Linked DNA regions of Homo sapiens: region 1 is linked to region 2. The links are contacts of gene promoters, found by promoter capture Hi-C in blood cells and fetal thymus (Javierre and others, 2016). All regions are on one chromosome and are shown on one strand. Each heading gives the region's core, a stretch centred on a gene start or on the middle of the fragment in contact. The rest is flanking DNA. Distances are from core to core; before and after follow the strand shown. Region 1 overlaps KDM5C (lysine demethylase 5C). Region 2 holds the start of GPR173 (G protein-coupled receptor 173).

The links. The method cuts DNA at HindIII sites, captures the fragments that hold promoters and counts their contacts. A CHiCAGO score of 5 or more calls a contact.
Region 1: a fragment that was not itself captured here is called in contact with the fragment with the promoter of GPR173 in region 2 in 6 of 17 cell types (megakaryocytes, activated CD4 T cells, fetal thymus and 3 more); the score reaches 7.5 in megakaryocytes.

The regions. Positions count from the first base shown.
Region 1 is chrX:53,220,844-53,223,563 of GRCh38, forward strand. It overlaps KDM5C (lysine demethylase 5C), which reads right to left. Exons shown (of 26, transcript NM_004187.5): 2 at 1-73. Among named protein-coding and RNA genes, the nearest start is that of KDM5C, 3.0 kb to the right of the region's middle. The HindIII fragment of the contact is 2,841 bases long and covers 1-2,671 here.
Region 2 is chrX:53,046,574-53,053,901 of GRCh38, forward strand. GPR173 (G protein-coupled receptor 173) reads left to right here and starts at 2,216. Exons shown (of 2, transcript NM_018969.6): 1 at 2,216-2,911. The HindIII fragment of the contact is 17,268 bases long and covers 1,526-7,328 here.

The sequences.
Region 1 (2,720 bases), core at 1-2,500, 170 kb after region 2:
GCTCATTCAGCCTCTGGATTCGGGGGGTAAACCTGAAGTTGTCCACTTCCACAGCAAAGGGTGGCTGCCAGTCCTGAGAGGGTAGAGAGGGGAAAGGGACTTGAGTTATCTCAGCATAGTGTAAGACCGGAAGTCACCAAAAGCAGCTCGGAATCCCACTGGCACCTTCCCAAACCTCTAGCCACTCCAGACCCTTTAACCTGCAAACATCCTACCCAACCACCCACCCCCACCTCCCCCCAGAACTCACAAGAGTCTAGCAGCCCCTCAAGTCTGCACCCAAGGCCCCATGCACATGCCCTAGGAAACTTCTCCTGAGTCCCACCCAACAGTACAGTGCCAGGATTTCAAGAAATTAAGAGATGGAGCCTCTGTTTTGTTGACCCTAAACCTTCTCCACACCCACATTAATTCCTTATCCCCTAGGCACGTGCTGTAGGACACACAGGCCTGGGAGTACTGGAAAGCACACAGGATCTAGAGTCAGAAGATATGGGTTCATGTTCTAGATCCGCTACTTACTAGCTATGAGATTTTAGCTTTCTGAACCTGTTTTCTCATCTGTGAGGTGGGAATATGAACTCTAGCCCTGGCTTCCTTGCCAGACCAATATGGAAAATTAAAACTAGTTTTCAAATGAAAATGTTATTCAAAGGAGTCACCGTTATGACCTGACATCTAAGGCTGACCACACCTCACAATACACATGCAGGGTAGCTCAGGTCCGATTGTGGCAGGACGTAAAGGTTTGGGCCTTTAATGTTTGTTCTCTCAGTTTAAAGGGCCTGAGATAGACACTGCAGGGAAGAGCAAGGAACAGGGAGCAAGTATGTGTATCACTCACCCAGTCTGGAAGGCTTCCTGTAGATCCTCTCTCATACACCTGCCTGGTACAGGAAGAGGCAGGGGAGGAAGCCCCAGGGGGTGGGGGTAAGTGCTGGGATGCCTGACTGTGGTGGCAAAGAATGGGAGGATTTGGGGAGGGAAGTCAGGGAAAGATCATGAAAGTGGGAGACACTCTGCTCTGCCAAGTTGGAGCTTGCTGTGTCCTGCCCAAAGGTCAGCTGTGAAGAACCCCCTCTCCAACACCCCTTTCCAACCTCCTATGCAGACCTCTCCTTCCCAGAGCCCTGGCTCCTGCTGGGGTGGTGAAATCAACCTAAAGTAACCTAAACCAATGTTCTCATTTTATAAATGGGGAAAGTGAGGCTCAGAGAAAAAAAGTGAAATTTCCAAAATTACATGCTGAGTTAGTGGTGGGGCCAAGAACCCACGTCTTCTGACCTCTGATCCAAGGCCTTTGCACTACACCAGACATCAATGTTCATACATACATGCATACACGTGGGCGGGGGGGAGAGACAGTGAAAGAGAAGAAAAACTGTTGACCTCTTCTGCACACACACTTTTAGAAAATGGGCTAGAGGACTCATATTTTGCATGCATACACAGACCACACTCCCCTGCCCCTACCAGCCAAAGCAGGTGGCAAACATCTGGGGCTCAGTAAGCAGGGACAAAAAAAAAAAAAAACAGGCAGGCCAAAATGGTATGGCTCAAATCCAGACAAGCTCCCCATGCCCTCTTGCCTCTCATCAGGATAGGGCACTCCCCTCAGCACAGGTAACCCAGCTAAAAAGGTGCTCAAACCCAAAACTCCGGGCACCCTTCTTTCCTGCTGAATCAAGTTCTAGACAATCAGTGCAACATCAAGCACCTGACAGGAAATGGCAGCCCTGGAATGCTACGGCAGGAGCCATGGATGCAACAGATACCTGGGAAGGCCCTGCAAACCGCCTGCCTTCATCTCCAGACTACTGTATGCCAAATGTATGTTGGTATTACTGGGATGTGGTGATAAAAAAAAGGCTGGCTACCTGATGAAGAAAGCAAGATCCTTCCAAACTCCACTGGGTCTACTCAGGGTACCCACACTCTCCTCCCACCCATCTTTCCCAAGCGTAGCAGTCACCTGCCCAGCAATTCAGGCCCCAAACCATCCTTCCTCCAGCAAACCTCCAATTCCCAGGTACCCACCCATATACAGGTTCCCACCCTGGGCCCAAGCATCACTTGAGCGAGTACTTCAAACTTCAACCAGAAGAAGGCCAGCTGCCTAAAGGTGGCCTAGGAGCTGCCATAGAGAAGGAAAAAACAAAACCAAACCAGAGAGCCAGGTATCCTGGATTAGAGAGAAGCACACTGTTGAGCAGTGAAAAGGACGGCCTCCTGCTGGCCATGCACACCTGGGACATGTCACTCTTCCCCTTCCTGATGCCCCAAAGCAGGGTAACAACACCTACACAAGGCCAGCCTGCCTAAGTCAGTCCAAGATAGAAAAAAGGAATTCAGGCCTCAACTACCCCCTACGTCAGCTATGCCTCTTTTTCCCACAGGCTTGCCCAACCACTTCAGGGAGTGCCTCCTTGAGGCTGCCCAGGACTCCTGCCTCTCCCTTCCACTAGCCTTCCTGACCCTCTACCCACTGCCACTCCCTCACCATGGACAAGGATACCTCAGAAATCTGTGGCCAGACTCCAAGAAGGAAGAAATTCGCTTACCCAACACCTCCTAGAGGATCTATCTGAAACCATCCTAGATCTGTGGCTGAGCACCAGAAAGCACCAAGTTGGATAAGGAGGCCTGTGGTGCCCTCCTCAGGTGGGAATGAAGCTTCCTATTCCATTTCAGCCAGGAGACACCCACTCAAAAACACCCTT
Region 2 (7,328 bases), core at 966-3,465:
CTTTTCACTATTTTAATGGTATCTTTTGATAACCAGAAGTTTTAAATTTTAATGCTGTTCAATGTATCACTCCTTTCCTTTATGGTAATTACTTCTTGTCTTGTTTAATTCCTTCCTTACCCCAAAGTTATAAAGATATTCTCTTACATCATATTTTAGAAGACTTATTGTTTTGCCATTTTTTTTTTTTTGAGACAGAGTCTTGCTCTGTCGCCCAGGCTGGAGTGGAGTGGTACGATCTCGGCTCACTGCAGCCTCGACCTCCTGGGCTTAAGCAATCCTCCTACCTCAGTCTCTGGAGTAGCTGGGACCACAGGTGCGCACCACCACGTTCTGCCAATTTTTGTATTTTTAGTAGAGACAGGGTTTTGTCATGTTGGCCAGGCTTTTCTCAAACTCCTGAGCTCAAGCAATCTGCCTGCCTTGGCCTCACAAAGTTCTGGCATTACAGGCGTGAGCCCGTGCCCAGCCCGTTTTGCCTTTTTTTGTTTGTTTTTCGAGACAGAGTCTTGCTCTGTTGCCCAGGCTGGAGTGCAGTGGTGAGAACACAGCTCACTGCAGCATCCTGGGCTCAAGTGATCCTCCCACCTCAGCCTCCCAAGTAACTGGGACTACAGGCGCACACCACCATGTCCAGATAAGGTTTAAATTTTTTATAAAGACGGGGTCTCAATATGTTGTCCCGGGTGGTCTCAAACTCCTGAACTCAAGCAATCCTCCTGCCTTGGCCTCCGAAAGTGCTGGGATTACAGGTATGATCCACTACACCCGGCCTCCAAAACATTTTCTAATTTTCCATGGATTTTTCTCCCTCCCCAAAGCATGTGGGCATAAAAATGACCACCGGAGGGCCTTGTCAAAAGGCAGGTTTTGAAGCCCCATCTGAAAACCTCCTAGATTAGTATTTCTGGGAGGTAGGCTTGGGTATCTACACTTTACAAGTTCTCCAGGGGATTCAGATGCAAGTGGGTTCCAGGTCCACAGTCTGGTAGCAGAGCCTGCATTTCCTAAGGGCAGAGAGCATAGGTCTGAGTCACCCGGTACTGTTAGTGCCCAGCACTGGGCCTAACATAAAACCATTTGTCATAAATGAAGGAACCAATGGATGAAGGAAGAAAGGAAATAAAACACAATTTCTTATATCAAGATAATTTGAATTCTTGAATGCTGTAACTTAGGGGAACCACTGAAGCATCATTTGGTCCCAATTTAATCATATTTGAAACAAATATTTTTTTCCTTGTCTTCATATCTCTGCCTACCAAGCGTTCTCCTCACCTCTCCTATTCTGTTGTCCTGGGACATGGCTTTAAGTATGGGTTCTGCCTGTCTGCTGGCCCCGAGAAAGTGGGGATGGCACAGGAGATATCCTGAGAGGGGCTGTTCAGAGTTGGGCAGCGCTCCTTTCCCACCCCAACCCCCCAGCCAACCTCCAGGCCTTGCAGGGAAAATGCCCATAGAACCCCATTCTAAATCAGTTTATGAATCCCACCTCTCCGGGCCCTAAGCATGCCTCCCAGCCCAAAGCTTTTGAGAAACTTTCGCCGGACCTTTGTCCCGACCCAGATCCTAGCGTCCTCTATGCCCTGCCTCCTCTGCACTTGTAGCCCATGTGAGTTGCTCTCTCAGCAGCCTCTTGGCCATCTCTCCCCACCTCCACTCATGCCTCTCTCGAGCATCTCAGAAAGGCCCGAGCCTGACTTCCCCAGCCAGCTATTGTCCTGGCAGCACAGCCGCCACGCCAGCGTCCCCACCCAGTCAGCCAGCCGGCTGCTCCCTGGCCTCGCCAGCACCCCCCGCCCCCCCCCCCGCTCCCCGCCCCGCCCCAGGGAGGACCAGGCTGGCAGCTGGGAGTCTCCCTGCCTGCTCAGCCTTCCTCCTTCCCTCCCTCTCCCTCCCTGCCTCCCTCCTCCTCCGCCCGCCCCTGAGGCAGGGACCGTGCAAATCGAGGAGAGGGGGGACGGACAGGCCTGATGGGGTCCAGCTTAGGGCCCCGGACTCCCCACTGATGCTCTATCCAGGCTGGGTGTCCCCAGCATCGTGGGACCTGGATTTGTGTGCACCGGGGTGGTTCCCAGGCCAGGAGGGTCCCTCTGGCAGGCCCTTGGTGCCCTCGTTTTGCATGAGGACCCCCCTCGGATGCTCTGAGCCACCCTCCTCAACCCGGATCTAAAACCCGGGACACGGCTATCAGGCCAGCCTCTCTCTCCACCCCACCCCCTCTTTCTGGCGTCCATCCCCTCCCCAACACCACCTCTGCTGCTGCCTCTGGCTGTGGACCTGCACCTCTTCCCCATCCCCGCCAGGCCCGGGGAGCGGGGTGAGCCTGGATGAGAGCCCCCCCAACCTGGGGCTCTCCCAGGCCATGGCCCGTGTGCTCCCAGGGAGGAGCCCCGGACCCTGAGCATCTGCTGGAGGCTTGGCAGAGGCCCCGCGGGGACCGTGTCTTCTGAGGACAAAAGGCGGCGGCCAGCAGGCAGACGGAGGGGGGGGGTGGGGGGTGGGGGGGGTAGGGGGACCGGCAGCCAGGCAGGCAGACGGGTAGCAGGGGCCAGCACTGGCCCCCCTCCCAGCTTGGCAGTGGCATGAAGATGGGAGTGGGAGTGTATAGTGGAGGAAGCACCTGCCGGGACCCCCACCTGCCAGCTAGTTGGACACCCCAAGGCTGTGTGCTGCCCACCTGGTGTTCCCCAACACCCCCAGCCCTACCCAGTGCACCCCTCCGGTGCCTGCTTTCCCTGATGCCTGCGATTTAGACCAGCCCGGCTGTATCCACGGCAACAGAAGCAGGAGTGTCACTGGCCGCCAGATCACTGAGGGTCCCACAATGTGGCCCGGGCTGTGATTTACCTGGGTGAGACAGCTTGAGCCCCATCGTGGATTCCAAGACATCCCTGCTGAGAGAGCCAAGGTAAGCAGTCAGCATCCCTCCACCAAGGATGGGGGGCTGGGACTTCTGTTCTGTCTCCCCACACATACTTCAGAGTCTCCATCACTGCCATGCTCTCTGTCTCTGTCTGACTCTGTTAGTCTCTTTCTGCTCCATCAAGGGGCTCCTTGGTACCCAAGCCTGGGGACTCCTCATCTTCCCCCCATCTTCCCCAATCCCAAATGTCCCATGAGAAAGGGAACCACCACCTGTTTCCCCTCACAGGGTCTGTTTTTATCATCATGGTTGCGTTTGGGCATGAGGCTGTGTTAATCTTTCCTTGTGTGCTGGCTGTGGAAGGGATGCCTGGGAGCCCGGCGGCCGTGTTCCCTTCACAATGCCTGCACCCTGGGCAGGCTCAGCCTCTTGCGGCTGCTCCTCTCCCTCTCCCTCCTCCTCCACTCTCCTCCAGGATCCCTGGCCTGCTGGCCGGGTGTGTGTGTGTGTGTGTGTGTGTGTGTGTGTGTGTGTGTGCACCTGGGTAGCAAGCAGGTGGGTAGACATGACAGAGAAGCTGCTCCCAGCCCAGACCATCCCCCACTCCTTCTTTCCTCCTTTCCTTCCTTCCTTCCTTCCACCCTCCCCACCTCCCCATCTCTCCCTACAGGTAGCAGAGTTTTGCTCACTCACCACTGAAGATGTTGCCGATTCCCAGCTAGGGGGAGGAAGTCACTGTAGGGCTAAAGGACAGTGAAGTGGTGGTGGGGAGCACTTCCAGGCCCTAGGCTGCCTGATGGTTCTGTGGGGGCAAAGACCAATCCCATGACAACCTGCAGGGGCCAGGAACAACATGGTTGTCCCTACAGTGTGGGACCCAGCCTCCACCACAAGGCTCTCTGTCTCTGTTTCAGATGTCCATGTTGTGTCTGAGACCCCCCGGATCTTGTGGCCTTGTGCCCAGTAGCCGGAGGTCCATATATCTGGAAGGGCAGGAAAGCCTGGTACATGGAGAACATGGATCCTCCCAGGGACACTTCCCCCAACTACTAGCTCTGCAACTTTAGTGGAAGCATGCCACTTACCGAACCTCAGTTTTCCCATCTGTCAAAGAGACTGGTAACCCTTCCCTGATGGGTGTGTGTAGGGATTGAATGAGTTGGTGCATGTAAGTAAGAGATGTGCATCGAGGTGGCACTGAAGCAATGTCAGCAAAGCTCACAGTCAATATTGTTGCTGATTATTCATGATTAATAGTGTTATCGATTACTTGGAGGAGGGACAGGTCCTTCTTCTCCAGGGTCTCAGCAGAGATCTGGGGAGGGCAGCAAGTGGGCAAATGGAGGGTAGTGGAAGGGAGGCAGGAGAAGCCCTGTGTTAATACTTCTCATTTGTAGAGAATGATAAGTGGTTATGGGCAGAGCCTCCCTCCCCCACCCCACTCCAGTCTTCTTTCCCTGCACTTGTCCCTGTTTGTGCGCACACACACACACAGAACCTTGAGCCCCCATGAGCCAGCAGAGGCCTGGCTTGCAGCCTGCAGCCTTTCTGGCCCTGGTGATGTATGTGTCTCCCTGTTGAGGGGAGACTTGGCAAGAGTTTGGCCTGTGGTCAGTGGTTGGCAGGGCCTGGAGATGAGGCTGAAGCTCCTGAGATCACGGGGCTTCGGGTAGAGCTGGGGTGTGGCCCATGCAGCAGCCAGACCTGTGAGGGACGCGTCCCAGGGAGCTGCTCACCTAGAGCCTGGGGTGGGGGAAGAACGGGGTCTGCTGGCTGATTTCAGGGCATGGAGATGTGATGGGACACAGAGTGTGGGGTCGGTGGCCAAGGGAAGAGGAGGAATGGGGAAAGACTGAGGCCCAGAAGACCATCTCTGTGGGGGCAGGGAGGGGGGCTTTGAGGCATAAAGTAGACTTTTCTGAAGAAGCATTTGGTGTGGGAGAGGACCTGGTCTGTGGTCTGGAGGCCTCTGGGCCCGAGCGTGGTTGTATATATGCTACTGAAAATGTGTGGCTGAGTGTGTAGTCTGTGTGTGCATGTCTGTTCATGGGCAGTGTGGCTGTGTATGAACCTGTGTGTGTAAGCAGGCCGTGTGATGGCATGTGTGTGAGTGTGTGGGTATCTGGGTAGGCTTGTGTGTGTACTGTGGGGTGGGCATGACTTTGCATGTCTGTCTGGGTGATCAAATGGACATGTTTGATTTTGAGCCTGAGTGTGGGTGTGTTTTCTCTGAGCCATCAGGCCTGTTGAATGTCTAGTTGTATATGTGTGTGGCATCAGTTTTTCTTTGAGTGTACGTGTCTGGTTGTATGTGTATGAGTGTGTGGGTTTCAGAATGCCTGGGTGTGCATGCCCAATTAGATGAATGCCTAGTTGTATCTGCTTGTGCATATTGGTGTGTGCTCATGAGTGTAGGTGCATCTAAAGGGTGTGCTTGTGAGTGTTAAGGGCATATATGTGCATGTCCATGCATGTATGAGAGGGTGTATATGTGTGTGTGTATATATGAGTGTATCTGTCCTGCATTTGTGTAAGCAGGCTTTTGACTTTCTGTGAATGTCTGTATGTGGGTTCTCCAGCATTTTAAATTATATAGATGTCCGTGTGTGCATGTTCCAGTGTATATCACCTGTAGACAAACCTTTATGTCCACATCCGATTAGAGAAATGTTAATATAGGTGGGCACACTAATATAAGGAGAACTAATTTTATGGGTAGGGGAGAGTGTGTGAATGAAAATCTATTTTGTGGGTATGCCTACATGTGCACATTTGATTATGTATGTGAGTATGGCTGTGTGTGGGGGTGTATGCCTGTCTGCACACAAAAACACACACACACGCAAAATGCTGTGTGCATAGGTGAAATGATGCATTGTCTATATGTCTAATTGTGTTTGTGTGTACACTGTTATGTGTGAGTACATGTCTGTGGCGTGCATGAGTAGGTACTTGGGTGTGCATGTCTCATTATGTGTTTTGTCTGAATTTCTGAGTATGTGAGTGTGAATGTGTATTTGAATATGCCTGTGATTGTGAGTGTATATGTGGGTGTATATGCTAGTAGGTGTGAACATCTGGCTGTGTGTGTTTCATTGAACATGTCTGTATATGCCTGCCTGTCCATACACATATGTCCACACACATCTGTCCACACACACACGTGTGTGTGTGTGTGTGTGTGTGTGTGTGTGAATATGCCTGTGTGTATGCCTGTACATTCAGACAGGCATACACAGAGGTATATTCATATGTGTGAATGTGCCAGTTTGTACAGTTCTAATTATTTGCATGTATGTGTTTGTGTTTATGCATCTTTGTTCTGGAGCATATGTTGTAGAACACAATGTAAGGTAACGTCCATGCATGTCACTCTCAGCCTACAAGTGTGTTTAAGTGTGTGTGTGTGAGGATGTGTGTGAGGATGTGTGTGTGTCTGTGATGAGTGTGGATCAGTCCTTCTTGTATGGATGTACAGTTGTGTGCATGTGAGTGTACTTCCATGTGTACATGTGTGTGAATATACCTTTGTGTCCAAGTCCATCTGTGAGAATGTAGGTGTAAATGATTCCTCTTTATTGTGTAGCTTCTCATATGGGTGTATGAACTTGTAGGAATGTACATGGTGTACATATCTGGCTGTGATAGTGTGGGCATGTTTTGTGAGTACATTTGTATTTCCATGTCTGAGTGTAAGCATATGGGAATGAATTAATGAACAAGTCTATGTGCATGTGAACATGCCCAGTTGTGTGTACAAGTCTGTGTTAGGAATGTCTGCATATCTATACTTCATGTCATTTACAAGCATGTGCATATCTAGGTGTTTATGTGTGTGAGTGTGTAAATATATGTGGTCATGTCTGGGTGTGTGTGTGCACACATTTGGGAGCTTCCCTGTCTGTGTCCATGTTTGTTCATCATCTCCTTGGGTGTGATACAAAGTCTGTCTGTCTGTGGACATGTGAAGGTATGCCTGTATGTACCCCTGTGTTTGTGAGTGAATGTACGTCATTCATGGGCATTATGTCATGTGAATGTATGTCACGCATGCGTGCCTATGTTTAAGAGTAAATGGATGTACACGTATGACTAAGTACAGTGTGAGTGTGTCCATGTGTAAGGATGAGTGTAGGTATTTGTGCATGTGTCTGTCAGTCGATGTGAGAGAGAGATACTTGGCCTTGGGCCTGTGCGGATTGGGCCTTATTGACAAGGGGATGGAAAGGGAGAATACTTACAAGTCTGTGTACCTCAGTATGTATTTGTGTGTATGACTGAGAGTCAGTGGTGCCCTGCGAGACTATGTCTGTCTGTAAGTGTGTAGACATCCTGCAGATTGGCAAACTATGACACCTGATGCCTGTGACCCCCATTCTGGGGCTTCTCTGGCCTTGACCATGTACTGGGCTTTTGTGGGGGTCTCAGGATAATTCCTGTCATTATTCACACTCAAGAAGTG